Regions from separate parts of the Homo sapiens genome. Here region 2 is linked to region 1. The links are contacts of gene promoters, found by promoter capture Hi-C in blood cells and fetal thymus (Javierre and others, 2016). All regions are on one chromosome and are shown on one strand. Each heading gives the region's core, a stretch centred on a gene start or on the middle of the fragment in contact. The rest is flanking DNA. Distances are from core to core; before and after follow the strand shown. Region 1 holds the start of IRF2BPL (interferon regulatory factor 2 binding protein like). Region 2 overlaps FOS (Fos proto-oncogene, AP-1 transcription factor subunit).

Evidence for each region. The method cuts DNA at HindIII sites, captures the fragments that hold promoters and counts their contacts. A CHiCAGO score of 5 or more calls a contact.
Region 2: a contact is called between a fragment that was not itself captured here and the fragment with the promoter of IRF2BPL in region 1, in 1 of 17 cell types (M0 macrophages). The highest score is 6.7, in M0 macrophages.

The regions. Positions count from the first base shown.
Region 1 is chr14:77,027,458-77,031,929 of GRCh38, reverse strand. It overlaps IRF2BPL (interferon regulatory factor 2 binding protein like), which reads left to right and starts at 3,222. Exons shown (of 1, transcript NM_024496.4): 1 at 3,222-4,472. The coding sequence starts at 4,138. It overlaps LOC107984638 (a long non-coding RNA gene), which reads right to left and starts at 4,462. Exons shown (of 4, transcript NR_190002.1): 1 at 4,119-4,462; 2 at 2,450-2,642; 3 at 2,194-2,269; 4 at 358-2,103. It overlaps LOC105370579 (a long non-coding RNA gene), which reads left to right. Exons shown (of 2, transcript NR_169510.1): 2 at 1-371. RefSeq lists an enhancer at 1,649-2,169 and silencers at 2,933-3,062, 3,263-3,472, 3,593-4,092. The HindIII fragment of the contact is 11,624 bases long and covers 1-4,472 here.
Region 2 is chr14:75,280,727-75,287,658 of GRCh38, reverse strand. FOS (Fos proto-oncogene, AP-1 transcription factor subunit) reads right to left here. Exons shown (of 4, transcript NM_005252.4): 4 at 5,429-6,876. The coding sequence ends at 6,235. Among named protein-coding and RNA genes, the nearest start is that of FOS, 5.4 kb to the right of the region's middle. RefSeq lists enhancers at 5,842-6,401, 6,402-6,932. The HindIII fragment of the contact is 1,187 bases long and covers 3,122-4,308 here.

The DNA.
Region 1 (4,472 bases), core at 1,973-4,472:
TTGACTCACTCCAGGGTAGCGGTAGTGTGGGGAGGGCTGAAGTCTGGGAGAGTGAGGCAATGCTCCCCAAGCAACTCTTTGCAGAGGAATCACTGCAAAGTGCCAGCAGGCCAGAGAAAGTTTATTATTGCTCTAGAGTGCACAGTGAGCTCACTGTTTTGCAAAAACAGAAATCTGGCTGCTTTGAGATGAAAGAGGGGCTCCCTAGGGCTCCTCCTCCTCTTCTGTCCTTAAAAACTCGCCTTTCCTTTGCACTCAGGGGCCCCAGAATGAGTGGGAGATTGGGGCTCTGGGGAGGGTTGGATAGGGGAACAGGCTCTGGAAGTCAAGTGTCAAAATAAAAGTAAGTATCTCTTGTTGCTTCCACTGAACTTTATTGCAATTACTAGTAATAAGAGTGATAATAGTGATCCTCACAATTTATGCAGTTTACTAAGTACTGTCACATGTCAACCAGCAATAGTACCAACACTAGTATCAATACTAATAATAACTAACACTAACTGTGAGTCCAACACTGCTCTCCATTCTGTATGGTGTATTTAAGTTACAGTCTGGTAGTGACAGATCTACAACTTCTGTATATAGAACTCAGTGGTACAAATGCGCTTGGAAGGGGAGGCTGGGGGTTGGTTATGAAGGTGTATTGGCATAGTACTTACGTAAGATTGTATGTAACACCAAATCAACTGGGGCTGATGGGAATTTTGAGCACCCCAAACCACCTCTGCAAGCCTGAGCTTGTCAAAGACACCTCAAATCAGATTTACTGGATTCAAATCCCAGCCCCATCACTAATGGCTGTAGGCAAGTTATATAGCCTCTTTACTTTCCTGGTTTGTAAAATGGAGGTAAAAGAATCTACCCTGTAGATAATATTAAGGGTTTAATACTGTAATAGGCCGGTCACGGTGGGTCATGCCTGTAATCCCAGCACTTTGGGAGGCTGAGGCGGGAGGATCACCTGAGGTCAGGAGTTCGAGACCAGCCTGGCCAACATGGTGAAAGTCCGTCTCTACTAAAAATACAAAAATGAGCTGGGTGTGGTGGCGGGCGCCTGTATCCCCAGGTACTTGGGAGACTGAGGCAGGAGAATTGCTTGAACCTGGGAGGTGGAGGTTGCAGTGAGCTGAGATTGCGTCACTGTACTCCAGCCTGGGTGACAGAGTGGACTCTGTCTCAAAACAACAACAAAATACTATAGATAATATCCCCTTAATAATGTAGATAATATTAAGGGTGATGCAAGTAAAGCCACCTAGTTTACTAAGGTCCCACGGCAAGTCTAAGTAAGCGTTATCTCTTCTTATGACAAGAAACAAATTGAGGCCGGGTGAGGTGGCTCATGCCTGTAATCCCAACACTTTGGGAGGCCAAGGTGGGTGCATCACTTGGGCCCAGGAGTTTGAGACCAGCCTGGGCAACACGGCAAAACCCCATCCCTTTCCAAAAATACAAAAAAATTGGCCAGGTGTAATGGCACATGCCTGTAGTCCCAGCTACTAGGGAGGCTGAGGTGGGAGGATTACTTGAGCCTGGGAGGTCAGGCTGCTGCCAGCCGCGAGTGTGCCACTGCACTCCAGCCTGGGCAACAGAACAAGATCCTATCTCAAAAAAACAAAAAACCGAAGTTGAAATCTCAAACAACCCTAACAACCTGGGAGCTATCATTCCATTCTCTTTTCCATGGAAAAGAGAGATTTTGTGGGTAACTAGCTTAAGGGTGGAGAGCCAGTTAGTGATGGAGAGGAAATTTCAATCTGGTGGGCCACACTTCAGAATCCGAAATCCCATTATATTGCTTTCCCTTCTCCAGCCTTCCCTGGGATTATCTCAGTTTTCATGAAATAAAAAAAAAAAAAAAAGCAAACCCAATAATTAGAATAATCAATAGAAATGCCCCAACTAGAGCTATGACCAACATATCCATCGTGCCATAAGCAATACTGATGAGCAGTGATCTTGTAAGGCAGAAGAAATCACGGCCTTGGCCGGGCGTGGTGGTTCATGCTTGTAATCCCAGCACTTTGGAAGGCCGAGGCGGGAGGATCACCTGAGGTCAGGAGTTCAAGACCAGCTGGCTAACATGGTGAAACCATGTCTCTACAAAAATACAAAAAATTAGCTGGGCCTGATGGCGGGTGCCGGTAATCACAGCTACTTGGGAGGCTGAGGCGGAAGAATCGCTTGAACCTGCGAGGCAGAGGTTGCAGTGAGCCGAGATCGCGCCATTTTGCACTCCAGCCTGGGCGACAGAGCAAGACTCCGTCTTAAAAAAAAAAAAAAAAAAAAATCACGGCCTTGTTCCGCCTTCTGGGGCAACATGGAGTGAGATCACAGCGCCTGAGAAAGAACTTTGAAAACTGCGGCTGTGCTTTACAAAAATGTATCAGTATTATTAAATGCTGCCTCCACCTTTTAAAAATCAAACTCTAGAAAAAACACTCACCTGTTTGGCCTCTCCGGCCCCTCCCCCTCCCTGCCCTGAACTGCAGCTGTGCGCAGCCAGTTGCCTGTTTTCCTTAAAGGCCTCGGGGTGCTCGTATCTTCTTCAGACGTTCAGCCAAAATTTTTAAAGTGCGGCTGGGGGGAAGGGTAGCGCACTCTGAATTCATTTAGCTCTATCGTTGAAGCCCGGGTTCCTAGATCAGGGCACAAAAACAAATAGAAAAGACAATTTCTGGAAGATTGGAAAACAGCTAATTTTGCAGGTGCTTCGGCATCAGTGGTGGCGATGAATTTAACATCCATGCCGGGGGGGATAAGGTTCAACCGCAGATGAAATGGTTAATACCTTATACGAAATTCACGGCGAAAAATCCTGAAACAGGACATTTAAATTCACTGCCGAGGCTTGGGGGTGGGGTGGGGAGCAGGGATCGGAAACGACGCTAGTGGTTCTTAAATGCGTTTTTACTTGGGAATGCCCGGCAGGGAAAGGAAAGGTCATCGTCTGTTTAATTTCCACCCCCAGCTCTGGACTTCCAGCATTAGCTCGCCGGGCCTCAGCTGTTGTACACACACGGCGAGGGGGGAGGGGAGGGCGGAGGCGCGGAGGAGGGGCCGGCTGGGAGGAATCTGGGCGTCCTGCCGCGCATGCGCCTTGCCTGAGCAACAAGTGGGCTCCACAGAGGAAGTGTAAAGGGGAGGGGGAAGAACTGGTGCAGAGCATGGCGGTGACGTCAGCGCTCCGCCCGGGCGGCATCCCGCGCGGCCAAGCCGGGGACAGCGCGAGCCGCAGCCGGAGCAGGAGCGCCGAGACGCGCCTCCGGAACGTAGAGTAACAATCACAACCCCACATTCCGGGCGAGCGTGAGCACGAGCGGGAAGGGATGCGACCCGGGCCGAGGCGCCGCGCGAGCGCCCTGCAGCCAACGTGAGCGCCGCCAGCCGCGGCGGCCCGGGCGCCGGCCAGGCCTGGGGGCGGCGGGAGCCTGCGTGCGTGCACTCCTCTCCTCTGCTCTCGTGCGTCCTGGAAGCAGTGGCCGCGGCGGCTCCCTCCGGGGTGCAAACCCAGTCGCCGCCAGCAGAACGGCCGACGCTGCGGAGGGGAGAAGGTCCTTTCTCGGCTGCCACCCCCTCCCCCGGTCCTCCGGGGAAGCAGCGGCTTCAGCAAGATTGGACCCGGGCACCGGGTGGCACTGAACCCTCTGGCCCTCGCCCCAGGGGGCCCGTCGGGGAGAGGACGCAGCTCGTAGGGGGGTCCCCGGGGAGAGGAAGAGACAGCCCCTTTCGAGCTTCCACGCACCAGCCACTCCGGGGAGGGGGCCAAGAGGCAACGGCGGCCACCACCGGGCACCCTCGCCCCCTCCCCTCGGGCCGGGAGCTTCCAGCCCAAGTCTGCAGCACCAGGAAGAAGGCGCCTGAGCTCCCCTCGCGACGAGTCAACCGCAGTAGGAGGTGGGGGCGAAGAGAGGGCTGAACCCGTCCGCTGCCCGGGCGGTGGAGCCCCCACGGCGAGGCGCTGCGCCGGCGGTGGAGACTCGCGTTCCCTCCAGCCCCTGGGGCAGAACTTTCTCGCCCCCCCTCCTCCCTCCCCCGCAGTCGGACTCCCTCCCCAGCCGGCCAGTCCTCCCGGAGGAGAAGGCGCCGCGGAGACAGCCCGGGCGGGGGCCTACCTTCCCCAGGGCAGGCATCATGTCGGCGGCGCAGGTGTCCTCGTCCCGGAGACAATCTTGCTACCTGTGCGACCTGCCCCGCATGCCCTGGGCCATGATCTGGGACTTCTCGGAACCCGTATGCCGCGGTTGCGTCAACTACGAGGGCGCTGATCGCATCGAATTCGTGATCGAGACAGCGCGCCAGCTGAAGCGGGCGCACGGCTGCTTCCAGGACGGCCGCTCCCCCGGGCCGCCGCCGCCCGTCGGGGTCAAGACAGTGGCCCTGTCGGCTAAGGAAGCGGCGGCGGCGGCGGCAGCAGCGGCGGCCGCCGCCGCCGCCGCGCAACAGCAACAGCAACAGCAGCAGCAGCA
Region 2 (6,932 bases), core at 2,466-4,965, 1.7 Mb after region 1:
ATAATAATGATAGTAGCTAACCCTTATTCTTCTATTTTAATGCAGACTAAATTATAGGTTTTACCATTTAGCACACTGATTGCTAGGAACCATTGAACTCAAATGGGATTTTTGTGATAGTCTGAAAGTTTTATAGCAGTAAGAGTGAAAAACATAATTTTGTTTGTTTCTTTGAAAATGATTATATCTAAATTTATATATGCATTCATTCTGCATTTAATAGCGAAACAATTTCTCAACCTATAATTAGCCTAGAAGTGTCACTGACCTACAGCTTACTTGTATTTTTTGTACCCCTTAAAATTCTTTCCCAAGCTAGCTAGCTCCTCATCTTAATATTGTAGAATCCTCGAAGGCAATTTTTTTAAACAAATGGGCATACTCTTCTACCCTGAAAAAAATCTGTGAAGTATATAGTTTATCTTCACTTTAAGTTCTAGCTATGTCCCTGTCAATATTTTTGTAATTTTCATCTGCATTCATTCACTCATTCATCTTCTTTATTCAACATGCACTTGAGGGCCTAATAGACACTAGAGATACAAATGTGATCAAGACAGAAAAGGTTCCCGCTCACATGGAACTTACAGTTCAGGGATAAGAGACAGACAATTTTCTTTTTTTTTTGAGACAGGGTCTTGCTCTGTCACCCAGGTTAGAGTGCATTGGCACGATCTTGGCTCACTGCAACCTACACCTCCTGGGTTCAAGCGATTCTCCTGCCTAAGCCTCCTGAGTAGCTGGGATTACAGGTGCACACCACCCACCCCCAGCTAATTTTTGCATTTTTAGTAGAGACAGGGTTTTGCCATGTTGGCCAGGCTGGTCTCGAACTCTTGACCTCAGGTAATCCGCCCACCTAGGTCTCCCAAAGTGCTGGGATTACAGGCGTGAGCTACTGCACCCGATGAGACAGACAATTTTTTAAAAGGAAAATAACACATAAATTAGATATTGCAAGTAGGGATACAGGCTGTGAAAAAACAAAGCAGGATAACTAAATAGAGAGTCCTAGGGAGCAAGTATGTCCCGAAGTCACCCTAGATAGAATGACCAGGGAAAGCCCCTTGGAGGACATGTCCTTTGAGCAGAGTCCCAAATGACAGGATGCCGCCAGCCTGGGGCAAGAGGCCCCGGCAGAGGGACTGCAAGTGCAGAGGCCCTGCTGCAGGAGTACGTGTTCTATGTGCCAGGAGTGGAAGGAAGGCTCGTGAGCAGAGTGCCTGTAGGGAAGAAGGAAAAGAGATAGAGTGGGAGAGGAATTAAAAGTCAACTTTTTTTTTTTTTTTTGGTGGAGGGGTGGTGTTTAGGAGTAGAGGTTTAATAAGCAAAAGAAAGAGAAAGGAGAATAACTCTCTCTTCAGTAGAGAGACAGGGGACCCTGAGTGAGACTTCCTAAAAGTCAACTCTTTAATATTAATAGGAAAACAGCACAATTTAAAGCATTCTGCTATTCAGCATTCAAGTGAGGCTCATATCTCTTTTTTTTTTTTTTTTTTTTTTTTTGAGGAGTTTGGTTACTCTGTTTGGAATGAGTCTCATACACCATTTAGAGATCAATTTTGTTTTAGCTTTTTTTCAACTGTAAAAACATTGAAACTTTAGACGATTACCTCAAGATAATCAACTGAGAACTTTTACTGTGCCTCAATTTTTTTTTGTCCGTTAATTAAAGATAGCATAATTGATTTACTTTCATTCACACATGGGAATTGCTGTTGATACAAAATTACTGTTATTAGAACAAATTGTTAAATCCTACCCTTTAATTTTGATAATTACACAAGATGCAGTGATGTGCAAAGATGATGCAGAATCTACAATCCACTATTCTACAGAGATAAATATTTTTCCTCTTCCCTCTTCCCATTGAAAATTAATTTGGAGCCAGAAGCCCAATGGCAGCTTTGAAGTTGAATTGGCAGAGGTCATCCAGGAAGACAGTGAAGGAATTCCAGGAGGCAAGGATGGGAATGGGGTATATTTTTGCAGCCAGACATAAAAGATGTAAAATTCCCATTGCTTAATATACTAACAGGGACCAGGAGAGGAGAAGTTAAAGAATATGTGTGGAATATATTTCTGTGTATGGAAATAGCACAGAATTTATTCATCCACTGGGCAAAATATTAATTAACCTTGTACCATGTGCCAGGCACTGAGCCAGTTCTGGGGATCCTGGTGAGCTAAACTGGACATAATCCCCATGAGGAAATGACTTCTGCCTCTATCCCCTTCAATTATATGTATATGTCTTTAGCAATGTTGAATAGTGGTGCCCTCTGGTAGTTGTTTTCTTTTTTGTTTGTTTTTTGTTTTTTTGAGACAGAGTTTCACGCTTGTCACCCAGGCTGGAGTGCAATGGCATGATCTCAGCTCACTGCAAGCTCCGCCTCCCAGGTTCATGCCATTCTCCTACCTCAGCCTCCCGAGTAGCTGGGATTACAGGTGCCCGCCACCACACCCAGCTAATTTTTTTGTATTTTTAGTAAAGACGGGGTTTCACTATGTTGGCCAGGCTGGTTTCGAACTCCTGACCTCAGGCGATCCACCCACCTTGGCCTCCCAAAGTGTTGGGATTACAGGTGTGAGCCACCGCGCCTGGCAGGTAGTTGTTTTATTGAGATTAGCATGAGGCCATAGCTTGTGGGTAGGAATCCGACAAAGTCTTTTTCAAAAGAAAGTTGAAGGCCAGGTATGGTGGCTCACATCTGTAATCCCAGCACTTTGGGGACCAAGGTTGGGGGGATCACTTGAGGTCAGGAGTTCGAGGCCAGCCTGGCCAACATGGTGAAACCCTGTCTCTACTAAAAATACAAAAATTAGCCAGGAGTGGTGGCAGTTGCCTGTAATTCCAGCTACTCAGGAGGCTGAGGCAGGAGAATCACTTGAAGCCGGGAGGCGGAGGTTGAAGTGAGCCGAGATGGCAGCAGAGCGAGACCCTGCCTAAAAAACAAAAAAAATAAACAAAAAACAAAAACAAAAAATTTCCCAGAGTTAATAATCCCTGAGAGTTGTCCAGTCCTGAGTGAGTAAAAGGGATTTGGAAGGAGCCATTTAGCTGGAGAAAGGAGGAAGGAATTTCTTCTCTCAAGCCCATGAAAGTGGTCAGCAGGAAGCTTGGTGGGATGTCAACCCTGGGGATCCGATGGTCTCTGATTTCCTCTTTCTGGACCTTTAACGCCATCTTGATGTAGCAGCCTGGTCTCCACTGGGCTGTGCAATAAGCTAGAGCAAGGGTCTGTGTCTGGGCCTTGGCCAGGGCTGTCAAAGGGAAAGCAATGCTCACCCTCTAGAGTAAGCATGGGGCTGACAGGGACCATGATTGAGGTCCCCAGGAGCAGGTCAATGTCCGAAGGTCCAGCTGCCCTTCTTCATCTGGGAAATCGTCTTCCTTTTCTTCCTCTGGTTGTTATTATTGCACACCTACAGGAACCAGCTGGGTTCCTTTTTTTTTTTTTTTTTTTTTTTGAGATAGGGTTTTGCTGTGTCACCCAGGCTGGAGTGCAGTGGTGGTGCAATATCAGTTCTCTGCAACCTCCCCCTCCCAGGCTCAAGTCATACTCCTGCCTCAGCCTCCTGAGTAGTGTAGCTGGGACAACAGAAGCACACTGGGTTTTGCCATGTTGCCCAGGCTGGTCTCAAACTCCTGGACTCCAGTGATCCTCCTGTCTCAGCCTCCCAAAGTGCTGGAATTACAGGTGTGAGCCACCGCTCCTGGCCCACCAGCTGGGTTCCTTACAGGGTAGATCACCTTGTTATTTCAGACCAGGTGTTTGTTAGTTATATTAATTCTGTATTTAGTTTAGGTATATTTAAAGGCTATAAAATATTTGCCCTTTGAACAGCAAACAGGGATCCTAAGGCCACTGTCATCACAAGTCTAGCAGAAACAGCACCCCAAGTGGTGTGTGATATAGGAGTGATCTAAAGAGCGGTAAGTTGCTTTTAAATGTCCATTTTTATGGGAGGGGCAGAGATATCATAGACGAGAACATCAACCTCAGTAAAACTGTCATTTTGAATTAAAACTTTTAACTCGGTTGAATATGACACCCCATAAGCACCCAGTGATTTTCATTATCACCAAAGCATTAGAAGACTGGCGCTGAAGCTCTTCTTCCACCCAGTGTGTGTGAAAACATAGTGCATGGTGCCTGCATGATACTCGCGAGCAGAGGCAGAAGGGCGGTCTCCTTTCCCTGTGGTTTGTACGTGTGCATGTGTGTGTAAGTGCCCCATTACCAGAGACGTCCCGGACAAAGGTCACGTTCTTCCTTAAGATGATAAAGTTTCTAAGTTAAAGCTTGTTCAGAGTCATGTTGACTTCTCCTTCTTGAGCTATTATGTAACTTTTTGTTTGCAGAACGATCAGCCATTATTTGTGCTGTTTGAGATATCTTTTGATTTCTGAGCAACTTTTTCTCCCCCACTTCCGCCCACTATAAACTGAATGAAGGGCATATGGTATTAGAGAAACCAGAAACCACAATGCATTTATTAATAAGGGATAGGGCAATAGCCCTCCTTCCCTTTCGAGAATAAAAGAGTACAAAAAAATGTACACATTAGTGAAAACTTTTTTTTTTAAACAGAGTTTCAATCTTGTTGCCCAGGCTGGAGTGCAATGGCGCAATCTCAGTTCGCTGCAACATCCGCCTCCCGAGTTCAAGTGATTTTCCTGTCTCAGCCTCTCAAGTAGCTAGGATTACAGGCATGCACCACCACACCAGGCTAATTTTGTATTTTTAGTAAAGACGGGGTTTCTCCATGTTGGTCAGGCTGGTCTCGAACTCCCGACCTCAGGTGATCCGCCTGCCTCGGCCTCCCAAAGTGCTAGGATTACAGGCATGGGCCACCGCGCCCGGCCTGAAAATTTTTTTTAACCAAGTATCAAGAGGCAGTTCAGCCTGCTGGATACGATAACGAGCAGGAAGATTCTAATGCCGATAACGGAATATCAAGAAAGTTGTTTATTCTAACCATTCTTCAATTTGCTCATCTTTGAAGTAGAATAACCCTCCACGTGATTTTGTGAGAATAAAAAGTTAAAATAGTCTGTACAAAGCTAGGTTCTGTTTGCTTAAAGGGTTCCTTTAAGATCAAAACATCTGAATTTAATATTAGCACAACAAAATTTAAATATTTCCCCCTGCGAGTACTGAAACAGAAAAAATGTATTCCCACAAAAGCTGTTACACAGCGGTTTCCCGTCCCCAGAAGCAGTAGAAAATCTTAGCATTCCAATGGAAGGCATGTATTTGTAAAATATTCTAAAATCAGCTCTATAGTTTCCTTGTCCTCTTTGATAAGGGATCAGACAGAGGGTGTGTCCCCCTCCAGCAGCTACCCTTCTTGACAAACTGGTCTCCAATAATACCTTTCAGAAACTTACAAGACTTCCAGAATGAAAAGAGCACAAGGTTGGTCGCATTCAACTTAAATGCTTTTATTGACAATGTCTTGGAACAATAAGCAAACAATGCTTAAATTTTTCATTCAAATTCACTTTCCACATGTCAAAAGACCTCAAGGTAGAAAAAAATAAAATAAAAATATAAATATCTGAGAATCCATCTTAATAAATAAATTAAAAACACAATAAAACGTTTTCATGGAAAACTGTTAATGTCAGAACATTCAGACCACCTCAACAATGCATGATCAGTAACATTACAATGAACATTGATGTTGAAGAAAAACTACAGTACATGGATATAGCTATTTATTTCTATCTACCAGAAAATAAAGTCGTATCTTTTCTTAGTATAATATTGGTCATTTCTAATCAGAACACACTATTGCCAGGAACACAGTAGTTATTGTTAAAATCAGCTGCACTAGATACAATTTGAAAATATCCAGCACCAGGTTAATTCCAATAATGAACCCAATAGATTAGTTAATGCTATGAGAAGACTAAGGAGAAAGAGAAAAGAGACACAGACCCAGGCCTGGCTCAACATGCTACTAACTACCAGCTCTCTGAAGTGTCACTGGGAACAATACACACTCCATGCGTTTTGCTACATCTCCGGAAGAGGTAAGGACTTGAGTCCACACATGGATGCTTTCAAGTCCTTGAGGCCCACAGCCTGGTGTGTTTCACGCACAGATAAGGTCCTCCCTAGGTCTACAGGAACCCTCTAGGGAAGATGTGTTTCTCCTCTCTGTAATGCACCAGCTCGGGCAGTGGCACTTGTGGGTGCCGGCTGCCTCCCCTTCCCTGCCCCCTCACAGGGCCAGCAGCGTGGGTGAGCTGAGCGAGTCAGAGGAAGGCTCATTGCTGCTGCTGCCCTTGCGGTGGGCAGCTGCACAGCTGGGGAAGGAGTCAGCCTCGGGGTAGGTGAAGACGAAGGAAGACGTGTAAGCAGTGCAGCTGGGAGTACAGGTGACCACCGGAGTGCACAGGGGCTCCAGCTCTGTGGCCATGGGCCCCATCCCCAGGGAGCCACTGTGCAGAGGCTCCCAGTCTGCTGCATAGAAGGACCCAGATAGGTCCATGTCTGGCACGGAGCGGGCTGTCTCAGAGCCACTGGGCCTGGATGATGCTGGGAACAGGAAGTCATCAAAGGGCTCGGTCTTCAGCTCCATGCTGCTGATGCTCTTGACAGGTTCCACTGAGGGCTTGGGCTCAGGGTCATTGAGGAGAGGCAGGGTGAAGGCCTCCTCAGACTCCGGGGTGGCAACCTCTGGCAGGCCCCCAGTCAGATCAAGGGAAGCCACAGACATCTCTTCTGGGAAGCCCAGGTCATCAGGGATCTTGCAGGCAGGTCGGTGAGCTGCCAGGATGAACTCTAGTTTTTCCTTCTCCTTCAGCAGGTTGGCAATCTCGGTCTGCAAAGCAGACTTCTCATCTTCTAGTTGGTCTGTCTCCTGTATACAGAGGGATAAAGGAAAGCATAAGACACAGTCTTACTCAAGGGCCCTTA